Regions from separate parts of the Homo sapiens genome. Here all the other regions are linked to region 3. Evidence: promoter capture Hi-C in 16 types of primary human blood cells and fetal thymus (Javierre and others, 2016). All regions are on one chromosome and are shown on one strand. Each heading gives the region's core, a stretch centred on a gene start or on the middle of the fragment in contact. The rest is flanking DNA. Distances are from core to core; before and after follow the strand shown.

Region 1 (4,912 bases), core at 2,001-4,500, 2.7 Mb after region 3:
CCCTTGTACTTCAGGCTCCATTTCCTGAGCTGTGTATGATGGGGCCCGCCCCTCCTGTGGTGAAGAGTCTGTGGCTGCTGAGTGGCATTTCAGTCAGACCTGAACTGAGCCTGCCTTTGCCCAACAGGAGTCGGCCTGCTGAGGCAGCATCTACCCGGCTCATCAGTTTGTGCTAGGACATGCCATGCCCTGTGTTACGTTCAATGCCTTTCAGGTTCCTCTGGAAAGTAGCATCACTGTGACCTGTAGATTAATAATCATGTTTGTCTTTAATCCATTTAGAATGAAGAGGTCACTCTCGGCACTCGATGATTTAGGGGAATGGACATTGGCCTGAATAACTGATAGCAAATGTAGCAAATTATTTCCTGTGAAGGACTCTCCCATCCCAACTTTAGAAAGTGCAGCCCCGTCTCAGCTGTGGGAGATGGCCAGTGATGTCCACAGGTCCTGGCTGTGTCACTCCTGATTCTGTGTAGTCATTGTCCATATGGGAGTTGGGATTATGGGTCATTCCAGCCCGTGGCAGCCTTGGTTCTTGGCTGATGTGCCCATCCTTCCGCCCATGTCCTAAAGCTGATGGCCATGCTTTCCCAGGGGACAGCATGACTCTCCCCTGGGGCCTGCCTCTCTGCCTAGCACCTGTCCTGTAGTTCTTGGTAATGGGGCCATATCAAAGTTAGTGGGGACATAAAGTTCCAAGGATGTTCCTGGGTTCTGGATATGTCTGTACCATGAAGGGAGGCAGCTGCTTTGCAGAAACAACAGGGAAGCTGCAGCAGGTGGGAAACTTTGGTGCTGGTCATCTCTCTGCACTTAATTCGGAGGTGATCATAGAAGAAAATATCTACCATGTCATACTTAAAATAAGAAGATATCAGAAATGTGGAGCTCAAAGGAACCTTAATGGCCACTCAATCTCAAGAACCTTAATGAACCTACTCAGTCTCCAGAAATCCTCCTAGAGAGGTCAAGTGCTGACTACTGTTGTGAGTTTGAGATACTGCTATTAACTTGCCTCTCCAAGAATTTTATGACATTTCTTTCCCATAGGTATGTAAATATATATGGGTTTTGGGACCAGCTTACCAAAAATAACTTTCTGTATCTATAGAATAAAATTGATCATAACATCCTATGTGTTTTCAACATCTATTTTTAAAAATTAATTTTAATTTTTATAGAGATAATGTCTTGCTCTGTCACCCAGGCTGGAGGGCACTGGCCCAATCATAGCTCACTGCAGCCTCGATCTCCTGGGCTCAAGGGATTCTCTCACCTTAGCCTCCTGAGCAACTGGGACTCAAGGCATGTGTCACCAAGCTGGGCTAATTTTTTTATTTTTTGTAGAGATGGGGTCTGCCTATGTTGCTCTGGCTGGTCTCAAACTCCTAGCCTCAAGTGATCCTCCCACCTTGGCCTCCCAAAGTGCTGGGATCAAGGCATGAGCCACCACACACAATCTTCAGTGTTTATTTTGTCCTCTCTGATTTCTCAACATTTAATATTAATATGTAAGTTGGATATCTCCACTCCTACCTACGGATCTGATCCCTGTGCTTAATCCTTTTACAGTGTTGCCAATAATCAATGATGGTCATTTCCCAGTTCCAGTGAGGTAGTGGTATCTTATCCAAAGAGAAGAGATTAATTTGGGGGTTGGATTTTTCTTTTTTCTTTTTTTTTTTCCAAGTCAGGGCTTCCCTCTGTCACCCAGGCTGGTGTGCAGTGGTACAATCTCAGCTCTCCGCAGCCTCAACCTCTCAGTCTCAAGTGATCCTTCCTCCTCAGCCTCCCAAAGTGCTGGGATTATAGGTGTGAGCCACCAATGCCCAGCCAGGATTTTAAGACTTCTTTGAACTATGGTTTAGGTTTTCGTTGTAGGATTCTTACTGATCTGGTAAATGTAGGCTCTGATCACTAAAAAAAAAAATTAAGCTGAAAGTCCTATCTCCTTGTTCTATCATGCCCCTTTCTACATTAGTAGTGGCTTCTTCCAAAACTATCTTAGAAGGGTGGCTGGCAGATGTGCCCATCCTTGAGCCCATTTCCTAAAGTTGATGGTAGTCCTTTGCCACAGAATAGTGTGACTCTCTTCCCTGGGACTCTTCCATCTAGCACCTGTCCTGTAGTGCTTGGTAATGGGGCCATATCCAAGCTGGTGGGGACATAAAGGGGTTGTTGGGTCACATCCTTTGAGAAGATGCCTGATTTCAAGGCAGTCTTTGTTTATTTACTTGTTTTCCTTCTTTTTATTTTGTTTTGCCTACACAATAATCTCTAGTGAATGCCTCTGGCTTAAGATCCTGTAATCCCAAGGATGTTAGTCTAGTGCCCTGACCCCGTCTCTGGATTGAGAAAAAGTGCTTGGGAAACAGAAACTATCCTCTTGTACCGGATGCCGATGAAAAGTGAAAGTGAGCAAACAGCCTACCAAGTTCTAAGAAAATGAGGCCAAGAGAGCTTTTGCTTTTTGAAAACTAATGATTTTAACCAAAAAAAAAATTTTTGTAGAAAATGAAAACACTGGATTTTATTTGCCTCCTTCTGGAATTTAGGCTTTGTTGGAATGGATAACCTTGAGAATTAATTCCTACTTTCTGCTGCTTTGTGTCTGAGTATTATGCATTTTACCTTTTCATTCTGACTAAACTCAAGCCCACCCATTCATTCCATGGTCTTCACTAGTTAGAAAAGATACTGATATTGAAGATTTTGCCTCATGGCAGTGCTTCTCCAAGTATGTTGTATAGTTTCTTGAGTTGTCTAGAACAACACTTCTGAAACCTGAATGTGCATTTGAATAACCTGGGATGTTGTTAAAATGTTGATTCTGATTCTGCAGACCTGGGGCAGGGCCCAGGAATCTGAATTTCTCACCAGCTCCCAGTCATGCTGATACTGCTGGTCCATGGGCCCTACTGTGAGTAGCAAGGCCAGAGGATACTTTCTTTTGGTGTAGTAATATGTGTTGTCATAAAAAAAGAGCGTCATAGCCAAATACGATTGTTAAATTCTATGTTAAAGAAGATGGCACAGCTGTCAGTGGGAACTTTTTAGAGCCTGTGATTACTGATGAATCCTGTAGGATATCCAAAAGGTAGATACAATATACAGTGGTTTTCAAACTCTTTTCTTGGAGCGTATTATGCCACTAGTATTCCATGAGATATACTTAGGAGACTTTACACGAGAGAGAGAGTAGTCTGCTGTGAAAAACAGTATCGAGGAGTCTTTTGAGCCTATAATTTAATAAACTACCACCTTTATTGAGAATATGCCTGTATTGAATGAATTGTCTATTAAACATCTTAAGTATTTGCCTCTTTTAAATCATCTTTTTAAATTCCTGTAAGAGGCTGGGCGCAGTGGCTCATGCCTGTAGTCCCAGCACTTTGGGAGGCCGAGGTGGGCAGACCACCTGAGGTCAGGAGTTTGAGACCAGCCTGACCAACATGGTGAAACCTCATCTCTACTACAAATACAAAAATTAGCCGGGCATGGTGGTGTGCGCCTGTAATCCCAGCTACTCGGGAGGCTGAGGCAGGAGAATCACTTGAACCCAGGAGGTGGAGGTTGCAGTGAGCCAAGATCGTGCCACTGCACTCCAGCCTGAGTGACAGAGCAAGACTCCATCTCAAAATGAAATAAAATTTCTGTAAGAGAAAGATTTTCAGCTGAACTGGTCATAAGAGTTTGTGTGATCGTGTGTGTTTTTCACTTGTAGTGCGGGTTACTAAGGCTATGAGTTTCCCAGAAAACTGTCCTTACCTGGATTTGAGGGTGGGATGCTCCAGATCAATAGAAATAGCCACAGATATTTGAAGATAAGAGAAGCCTACGATATAGTATATAGTCAACATGTGTGTTATTACTAATCATACAGCTTTCCATTCTGAGTTCATGCTGTGATTTCTCTGGGAACTAGCATGTTATTAAGGGACCTCAGGTTTTTTGGAGCGACAGCAGCAGCGTGACGGCTAACATTTATTAACCCCCAATGAAGAGCCAGTGCTTCTCTAAACACTGCAATATGTTCTCGAGTAATTCTGTGAGGATTATTGATTGGTGCTGCAGTTATCCCCACTCCGCAGATGTGGAAAGAGAGCTGCCTAGAGACTTGGAAACTTTCCCTAATTTTGTTATGGGAAAGCAGCTTTTGAACACAGGCAGTCTGACTCCAAAGCTCATCACTATAAAGCATGCATTTTACTAATTGGCACTATCACTTGTTTAACATGTATGTATGTATGTGTGTATGTATGTATGTGTGTATGTATGTATGTATCTATTTTAGAGACAGGATCTAGCTCTGTAACTCACAACACTGGAGTGCAGTGGTGTGATTATAGTTTACTGCAACCTCGAACTCCTGGGCTCAAGTGATCCTCCCATCTCAGACTCCTGAGTAACTAGGATGACAGGCATGTGCCACTCTGCCCAGCTAATTTTTTATTTTTATTTTTAGAGACAGGATCTTATTCTGTCACCGAGGCTGGAGTACAGTGGTACGATCATAGCTTACTGCAGCCTCCACCTTCTGGGCTCAAGCAATCCTCCCACCTCAGCCTCCTGAGTAGCTGGGACCACAGGCACATGCCACTATGCATGGCTAATATAAATTTTTTTTTTTTTTTTTTTTTTTTTTTAGTAGAGACAGGACCTTGCTATGTTGCCCAGGCTTGTCTCAAACTCCTGGGCTCAATTGATCCTCCCACCTTGGCCTCCCAAAGTGTTGGGATTACAGGTGTGAGCTACCTTGCCCAGACCTAATTTTTTTTTTTTAGAGATAGGGTCTTGCTATGTTGCCCAGACTGGTCATGAATTCCTGGTTTTAAGCAATCCTCCTGCGTCATCCTCCTGAGTAGTTGGGATTACAGGCATGAGCCAGCGGGCCCAGCTTAAACCCACA
Region 2 (4,882 bases), core at 1,635-4,134, 2.3 Mb after region 3:
AATTCACTGACACAGATTTTCCTTTTCTGATTTCTGTGACACAATTAGGTGAACAGGGTATGAAACCTCCTTTTGGCAGTGCGTTTCCACAGCTTCCCCATCATTCAAAGACACATTTCCTATGCACATACTGGAGGCACAGAACAAAAACCCAGTACAACAGAACTACTCAGAGCCTGCAACTTCACTCCAGGGAAAAACCCTTTACAGTAAGATACTTTATCAGTTTTCTTAAGAGCGGGAGGCTTGTGGTGAACATATAATCATCTGAAAGGTGTTAATGCTCAAATCAGTTGTATGGGTGGAAGGAAATTTTCCAAAAAAGGAAAAAAAATAAAGATGGGGATGAGTTATGCTGGGTGAAAGAAGTCAGTCAAAGGTATACAGGATTCCACCTATGTGACATTCTAGAAAAGGCAAAACTATAGGGAGAGAGAACAGATTAGTGGTTGCCAGAGGTTAGTGGGGAGGGGGGGGTGTGACTACAGGGAGATTTTTGGGGGTGGATGGAACAGCTTTGTATCCTGATTGTGGTGAGGGCTGCACAAATTTATACGAGTTAAAATTCATAGAACTGTACCATCCTCCAAAAGAAGTCAATTTTACAGAATAATAATTTTAAAAACAAGTATACATTTTTTTTAAAGATGGAGAGGCTAACAAACTTTGCAACCTTTCCAGGTAAGGATTCATGAGACCTGAGCAGCCAGCCAGCCCTGAAATGGTTGGAACAGGAGAAAGAAGAAGAGCTCGACAGATACCCTGCCTGGGCTGGCAGCCCAGCTGCACCACACGCTGGCCAGCTGACAGCGGGCACATCCCTTCATCACCCAGTGCCTTTCTTCCCTCTTGTGAAAATGGAGATATGCTGAGAAGGTTACCTCAGCTCATCCAGGGAAAGCTTCTTCAGCTAACTAGGCTGTAGAAAGGGCCTACAGTCTAGTTAAATTTCCAAAAACAAGTTAATGCCAGAATATAAACTCCATGAAGTAACAGATTGTGTCTGTTTCATTCCTGCATGTATCCCTCATGCCTAGACAGTGTCTGGCACACAGTACGTGCTCAACATTGACTGAATGTGAGGGAAAAACCTATGCAGTTCTATACCATGTAGACAGGATCATAAATGATCACTATTTAAATTGTGTGTGCTGCTTTCCTTGACAAGAGTAACCAAGAGTCAGCTCCTTCAAGCTGATAGGAAACCCTGCTTCCTGGAAATGAGTATATCGAAGAGATATCTGCACTTCCATGTTTGCTGCAGCTCTGTTCACAACATCCAAGATGAGAAAGCAACCCAACTGTCCATGAACAGATGAATGGATAAAGAAAGTATGGTACTTACACACAATGGAATGCTATTCAGCCATAAAAAAGAATGAGATTATGTCATTTTCAACAACATGGATGGTCATTATGTTTAGTGAAATAAGTCAGGCACAGAAAGACAAACATCACATGTTCTCACTCACTTGTGGGACCTAAAAATAGATACAACTGAATCATGGAAATAAAGAGTAGAAGGATGGTTACCAGAGGCTAGGTAGGGTAGCAGGGTGGCATGGGGGAGGTGGGGATGGTTAATGGCTACAAAAAAACAGGAAGATTGAGTAAGACCTACTATTCGATAGCACAACAGGGTGACTACAGTCAATAATAATTTAATTGTAGATTTTAAAATAACCAGAAGAGTATAATTGGATTGTTTGTAACAGAAAGGATAAATGCTTGAGGGGATGGATACCCCATTTTCCCTGATGTAATTACTATGCATTGCATGCCTCTATCAAAACATCTCATGTACCTCATGAATATATACATGTACCCACAAAAATTAAAAATAAAAAAAAAAGAAAATTTTGCTATCTCAGCAATGGATTTCCTAGTTGCTGAAGAGATCTAGGTATACACTTCTATTTCAAATTTAAAATGTTAAAAAAAAAAAGTCTTTACAATCATTTTGATGTCAAAACTTGGTTTTTAATTAAAAAAAAAAAAGCATTCCTGAAAAGGTTTATTAAAACTGGTTTTCACACCTCTTATGAAAAAGAAGTGGCTCACACTTATAATCCCAGCACTTTGGGAGGCCGAGGCAGGAGGTTCACTTGGGGCTAGGAGTTCAAGATCAGCCCGGGCAACACAGGGAGACCCTGTCTCTATTAAAAAAAAAAAAAAAAGAAAAAGGGGAATTTTGTTGTAAATGTACACATAAAGTGTTCTTAGAATTTTGGGAGACACTTTCATAAATGAAGAATCTCTGTCAAATGAATATATATGTAAATATATATTACCCAAATATAGCAAATATTTGCTATATTAGTATTCATTCATTATATATTACATGTATATTTTATTAAACATACGTATTAAAGTACAAGTTCTAAATATCACCTTTTCCTATAATATTTTCCCATTCCTAATGACATATTTCATCATAAAAAATTATACCCAATGGATCTCAGTTTCAGACATTTTTAACTTTATAATCTAATATTAATAGTAAACAACAAAGGATAAATTTCACTTAAATTTTAACAAGTTGAAAGAGAGGTAGCTTCAAGTCTGAGGTAAAGCACCTTACCAAGTCGGCCACTCTGCATAAGGAATCCGAGAGCTCATCGAAGATCAGCACGGTCTGGGGCCCAGGTGGGGTGGAACATGCACGGTCCACAAGCAATTCTGTCTTTCTCAAGGCTTTTTCTTGTGCAATATGAAATCCTTCTGGGGCACTCAGCTCAGGAACTCCAAAAAGACCCTTAGAACCAAAGAATACGTCTGATTTATAACCAAAATTCAAAATTGTGCTTTTTTTATATTTACTAAAATTACTTTTATCACAAAGGAGATCTTGACTTTCATTGGTGTATCATGTTATACCTGTGATCACAGATACCACTATCATACTCCCCATATCACTCCACATAAATTACACTAAAAATGTTTTCAGAACATAATTTTTCTTCAATTTTTAATTATTTTCCGGAAAAAACAACAACAACAATGGTATGGGTTCAAAATCCAGCTGTCACTTCTACAGAACCTAAGAGTGGCCGCAAAGATTAAATGAGATCATATATGTAAATATATATATATATATACATAAAGCAGTGTTTGGCACAGAGCATTTATAGATGTTAGCCATAATTATTATTAGCTTATAACCCTGGTCATGTTATTTCTCCTCCTAGGAGAAATATTTTTTTCATCATGTACAATGGGAATGACGATACATACCTTACAGCATGGATACAGGTAATAAGTATATGTAAAGTACTAACAGCAGCAGCTGACAAGGTGAGATCTCAGTACATAGTACCAATTATTCTATAACTATCAAATAGGGAGGATGAGTTGACTATGAAGCAATAGATATTTTAGAAAAATGTAATGAACATATTAAAATCATAGGCTGAAACTGGGAGCAAATTTTATACGTTACAAAGACATTTCAATATCTTGATAAAAACAAAAATCACTGATCTAATGGTAATGACCATTCTCTTGTTACCTATTCAATCACACTTGTTAGCACACTCAGGAAGGCAGGGGGAAAAAGCATTTAATATGCACCTACTGCATACCATGAAGTGTGCCTGCTACTTTACATAGGTTCTCATTTAAATCACACAATCCTACAGAACAGAGTATCATTCTTTTACAGATCAGGCCACATGCTTTAAGACGTTAGAAAAAACTTGTTTGAGGTCACAAATTAATATTGGGAAAGACAGAACTCGAACCCGCTCTGTACATCTGTAAAGCCCACACTTTTCCATACTTCTCTATTACAATTTATCTGTTTGAAAGTCTTCTCTCCTGAAAAGGTGAGCTTCCAGACCCAAGAGCCCTGCCCTTCATTTCTTTAACCAGCTATCCAATAGAATGTCTAACACATGGGGGAACTCAATGAAAGAAACAAGTGACCGGAGCAGATGCTAGGCTTTGTTAATTCACTTTGTAGGTGCTTAACGCATAGATTTTCAGAAATACGAACAGGTAAACCTTCAGGCCTGACAAGCCCTACTGTTTCTACAAGAAGGGATGGATGAAGTTAAGCTAGTAATCTCTCTTCAAAATATATTACAAGATAAAAAATAAAATAAAAGAAAGTCAGTGGGAGACAAAGGAAAATCAGGACCAAAAACAAATGTCATCTTTATACTGATTTAATTTGATTCAAGCACAGACTACTTCCACTTCCCAGTACAACCTGCCCATATTGCTCTCGGGAATTCTAACTATCGGATTACCAGTGACCATAATGCTAAAAAACTGAATAAGGCTTTTTTTTTTTCAAGGCAAAAATCAATTCTAAAATTTGAAAATCTGCTATCAGTGCCGAATATCATGATACAAAAAGGGAAAAATAAAAGCTAAAATTAGTTATATCTCATCCACCCAAAATCAGGCTTCCCCTCACGTCTTTCTGCTCAGCGCCTACAAGTAGGTCTCTTCACACCAACTATGTTAATACCAACACTACATACCCTTAAGGAAGGTGGTGTAGCAAATTTCACACAAAATAATTTTTAAATAGACAAAACTGATAATGGAGATAAAACAAGAATCACACACTTTAGCTCAGTGCAACAATACCCTAGACTTGTCTTTATAAGGCAATACAGTATAACGAAATTTTAAAAGGCAAAAATAAAAGTAATCCTTAACCTAAAACGGACAAAATGTACAAACTCCAAGTAGAACAGGCATCAGGTAAGTCCTTTCCAACCTTGCCTTCCTCTCACCTTTCACTAGACAACGCAGGCTAGTGACTTCCTGGGGTAAGAAATCAAAGTGACCAATTCCATGGCACTATGGGAAGTGAGACTCGTCTCAACAGAGTTTTGTGTTTTAAAACAAGAAAGCCCAAAGCTTTGAAATA
Region 3 (4,653 bases), core at 54-2,553:
ATATGTAAAAACTTACTAAGTCTACAAAAATTTTAAAGCACTACTCATTCAAATTTTCAAATGCGTTACAACATCATTTATCCTGAAATAGGGAACTTGAATCTTTTTTTTTTTTTTTTGAGACGGAGTTTCGCTCTTGTAGCTCAGGCTGGAGTGCAATGGCTCGATCTTGGCTCACTGCAACCTCCGCCTCCCGGATTCAAGCGGTTCTCCTACTTCAGCCTCCCGCCACCACACCCAGCTAATTGTTTATATTTTTTAGTAGAGACCGGGGGGGCGGGGCTGGGGTGGGGAGCGGCTTCACCATGTTGGCCAGGCTGGTCTCGAACTCCTGACCTCAGGAGATCCACCCGCCTCGGCCTCCCAAAGCCCTGGGATTAAAGGCGTGTGCCACCGCGCCCGGCGGACTCTTGTCTTTAATAGATGGAGGTTTTAGGAGCAATTTTTGCTTAGAACTTATGGTCCACTAAGATATTAAGGTTTATAATCATGCAATAATGTTCCTTAAAGTTGATAATAAAATCTGGAAATCAACTGGTTAATTTTTGTGGCTGACACATTCGTGACTTAAAAAAGCAATCGACAGAACTTCATCATGCTATACAAAGAAAAGATCGTAAAACTTAGTTGCAAAGCTTAACAAAGGTATATCCCACAGGGGTAACTGGACGCAAACCACCTGCGGATGTGAATGCCACTTCACTGACCAGAGAGGTAGCAAGAGGCGAGGCGCAGTGAGATTCTGAATTAGGAGCCTCGAATTAAGACACGCCCACACTCATCACCACTAAATTAGTGCGGCCAGTTTTGTGGGCCGTGGTGTTCAGCGTCCGCGGGGTTCTCCCAAGGGAGGCAGAATCTCCGGTCACCAGCCTCGAAGGCCCTCGGGGACTCAGGCCGGGGGCCGGTCCAGGAAGGAGCGAGTCCCACCAGTCGCAGGGCGCTCCGATCCGCAGCGGCACCTCCACCCACGGCTCCGGGAGAGCCGCCCAGAGCCAAACCACTCCCCGCCTAAGGGCGTCAGGGGAGGGAGGAGCTTGACTGGGGCTAGCAGAAGGAGTTAGTCCTGTACCTGTGCGGAGACTGTAAAACTGCCATCCCGCGCCGCAACACTGACGCGGCTGTGGTGCCAGGCCGCTCCTGCTCCTGCCAGGGCCGCGCCGGCCACTGCCGCTGCCAAGGGGCCGGGACTCCGCACAGCCTGTCGGCTGACAGCGAGCCCCCGTCGCAGTTTTCCGCCCCAGGCCGCCACCCGCGCGCAGCTACCCGCAGCCGCCGCCATCTTTGCGGAAGCGCAGCTAGGCGGCGCTTCTCTCCCGGCGCCGCCGCCTACCGCTTGGGAACTCTCGCGACATCCGACAGGCTTCCGCCCCGCCTACCGGGCCTGCGCCGTGGGTGCGGTTGCTGAGGCGACGCTCGCAGCCGCAAGAGGTGGCCTTCGGTTCCGGGGCTGCCTTCTAAGGCTGTGGGGATGGGATGACAGGAAGAGTATCAAGACAGTATAATATGACTTCCTAGTCCAAAACAAGATAGTGCCCTCGGTTGTGTGGGCAGGTTTCTCCTTTTCATTTTTTCACCTTGTAAAACTGTGAAACGTTTTTTGAAATAGTCTCTTCTGCATCTGTGTTGTTCATGTCTTCCTATGCTTATAGTCTTGACTGTTCTTTCATTTCTGCTAAAACAACTCTCAGACAAGGCATTCTGTTTATTTCAGTCCCTCACTATTTGCTTATAATGAATTTAAATTCAGTTTCAACAAAAGGTTTGATAGTAGCTCTTATCCTACCTAGAACTAAAAGTCAGAGACAGCAGCACACCAGCCCCATGTCTCTATCATCAGGGACCCAGAGGTTTTCCCCAGTGCAGATTTAGAACGATACCTCCAGTCCTGGCTGTTGCATTGGTGATAAGTGATGTAGCTGAGGCAGACTACTTGGTTTTATTTAACAGCCTCCAATCCTCCATTCTTTGGTCTTCACTTTTCCTGAGTAACTCTTTTTAATAAACTCTTTGTTCAGCCTCTGAAATGTCCCCAGCTATTAGAAGCTTTAGTTGGGCATGCAGTAACGGAGCCAACATCAAAGGGGCCAAGACTCCTAATCACATAATCACTGCTGTCTTGAAGTTTTGCACAAAACAAAACTTCAAGAAACAAAAACAAAAACCTGTCACACGAAATCTAATTTGATCATTCAGTGGAAGTTCCGTGGATCCCTTTGTTATTATCTGCCCTTAATCCTTGCTCCCTTTCTCTTAGCCCGCTTGTCTAAATTAATCTGCAGTCAGAGGTTCCTCACTTTTCCGTCAGCTTCTGGACTTACTTTTCAGTGTGCCTTCCCAGGTAGGAAGTAGAGAGATGAGCCTCACTTCACCGACTTGTGAGCCAGACCTCAAGGTTTGAATCTTAGCTCTACCAGGATGATCACTGTGGTTTGGGGCAAATTATTTAATCTCTCTGAGTCTCCATTTTCTCATTTGTAAATAACTCACGATTTGGTAGATGATCACTGCTATTTGGGGTAAGGTATTTAATCTCTTTGAGTCTCAATTTTTTCATCTGTGAACAACCCTCTTACAGTTTGGGGTGGGGAAGCTAAATGAGATATTTTATATAAAGTGACTAGCCAAATGCCTGGCACATGGTAGGCTCATGACAGATGTGCGTTTACTGTGGTCAAGGTTTGGTTTACTTCTGCCCTGTGAACACAAATGAGCTTGACTGAATGTCCATGATTCCAGATCACTAGCCCATCTTAACCTGAGATTTTCCTGCTTTTTTGTATCTAGCCTGACTTTGTCAACCTCTGGACTGTTTTTCACCTCTGCTAACTCTGGTAGCTTTGGCACATGTCCTGCTTTTCTGGACTATTGACATCTAGCTTGTTTCCTGGTGATAATAGGACTTCCAGGATATTTTGGACACCCTGGATGTCTTACCTTGTAGTTTATTCTTGATTTCCAGAAACCACAGTCTTTACGTGTATACTTCTAACTGCCTCACACAGTTCCTCTAGGTATTTAATGAAACCTGGCATCTATTACTCAGTATTGCCTTAAGCCCAAGATAAGTTTAGATTCCCATTAAAACATGTAGCATATTTAAGAACATTGTCTTTCTCCCACAATTTGACATCCTTGTGGGTGAGATGTCTTCCTTTTCCCTGTTTCTCTAGCACCTAGCACAATGCCCAGCACGTAATAGACATTCAATGAGTGAGTAAATAAGTGAATAAATAAATGGCACAAATGAAACTCAGGGGTTCATATTTCTATGCTTTGGCCATCCAAAATACAGAAGTATATTATTCCTTTGGGGTACTTTATTTTCAAAACAAAAGCTTCTTTTTATTTTGCCAAAAATCTTTGAACCCACTTGGAAAACAGTGTAATTAGTTATTTTTTAAATTTTCATTATGTGCCCAGGCATCTAGAACTCTCACTTATAATTTAATGTATTCAAACTTTTCTTATGCAGAGGAAACAAATTCTTATAATAGAACCAATCTCTAGTCGAATAACCATTCTAAGTATGAAATCTTCCTTGGCAGCTGCTGACATTTGTCTAAGCACATTGACTATATTGGTCTTTTTGGGCTCCAGCTTTGTTCATTTCTTCATCATCAGCTGTAAAGTCCTGGGCTGGGATGTATTTTCAACCATGCAGTTTATAAACCAACCCCCAAATAAGAAGCTGCTTCTAAAGCTGTACATTGTATGCTGTTTTAAATAACTGGACGAAAACAGGATGGAAATACTTATTGTTTCAAAGTATTCTTAATTCACTTACTCCTGCTCTTTTTTTCTGAAGAAGAACGAAAGTGATATGTCAGAAAAACTGCTCTTAAGGAGCTTTATTTTCACTGGAGAGGCTAGGCTTGAATTTCAAAACAATTGTCTCTGACTTTTATACTGTACAGAGAAGCAAGGGTGAGGTGGGCTGGCACAGGCAGAAAAGCATCTAGGGAAGACAGAAGACTTGATCTGGAACTTGCTGGGGTCTGAGGCAGGGTGAGAGCCTGGGGGAGGGTGCATACAGTGTGTGCTGACAGGCTTGGTGCAGAAGGGCTAGCTGGGGACTGGCTTGGAGTGTCCTGAGGGCCAGGCAGGGGCCACACAATGATCTCCAGTCTGTGGAACAGTTGTCAGCCCCCTTGACCCTCTGCACATTTGTCACTGGCGTATTCATGCTTCCCTTTCAGCGTCCCCACCCGCCTTGAGGCTGAGCTCCTCTTCTGAATCTCAGATGCTCCACCAGTGTATTTCTTCTGCTTGCCCGGACTTTATCCTGGCCTTTCTTAGCCGCTATCCACACGCTTCTTCAAATTATTGTCCTTTTTACTGACAATCAAAACTTCGATTCCCTCTGGGTTACTGGTCTTGAACAAAAGAGGTCAACTAGTTTTTTTACTGAAGATATCTACTCCTTTGTATTTCCATTTTAGAAGAAATTATTAACTCAAACACATCTTTGATCTTAGCATGTGTGGGGAGAAAAACAAAAATTGCTATTGGATTCTGAAAGATTGTTTACTGCTCTATTCCAGAATAATGTGCACTGAGACAGATTATCTTAGGTGGAGGAGAAAAAATATGGGAGATCTCAAAAGATTAGTTAAAGAGGTTGGACTCCTATAGGAATGAAGTAAAAAGCAT

What was found. Contacts are between HindIII fragments. The CHiCAGO score rates a contact against its expected background, and 5 or more counts as called.
Region 1: a fragment that was not itself captured here is called in contact with the fragment with the promoter of MICU2 in region 3 in 2 of 17 cell types (fetal thymus and naive B cells); the score reaches 6.2 in fetal thymus.
Region 2: a contact is called between a fragment that was not itself captured here and the fragment with the promoter of MICU2 in region 3, in 1 of 17 cell types (naive CD8 T cells). The highest score is 6.7, in naive CD8 T cells.

Annotation. Positions count from the first base shown.
Region 1 is chr13:24,265,120-24,270,031 of GRCh38, forward strand. The region is part of intron 4 of SPATA13 (spermatogenesis associated 13); the gene reads left to right. Among named protein-coding and RNA genes, the nearest start is that of SPATA13-AS1, 13 kb to the left of the region's middle. RefSeq lists an enhancer at 2,234-2,383. The HindIII fragment of the contact is 8,225 bases long and covers 1-4,912 here.
Region 2 is chr13:23,883,752-23,888,633 of GRCh38, forward strand. It overlaps MIPEP (mitochondrial intermediate peptidase), which reads right to left. Exons shown (of 19, transcript NM_005932.4): 2 at 2,582-2,755. Among named protein-coding and RNA genes, the nearest start is that of PCOTH, 2.7 kb to the right of the region's middle. The HindIII fragment of the contact is 3,971 bases long and covers 900-4,870 here.
Region 3 is chr13:21,602,867-21,607,519 of GRCh38, forward strand. MICU2 (mitochondrial calcium uptake 2) reads right to left here and starts at 1,304. Exons shown (of 12, transcript NM_152726.3): 1 at 1,073-1,304. The coding sequence starts at 1,282. RefSeq lists enhancers at 398-1,017, 1,018-1,636, 1,418-1,487 and a silencer at 1,038-1,247. The HindIII fragment of the contact is 1,411 bases long and covers 634-2,044 here.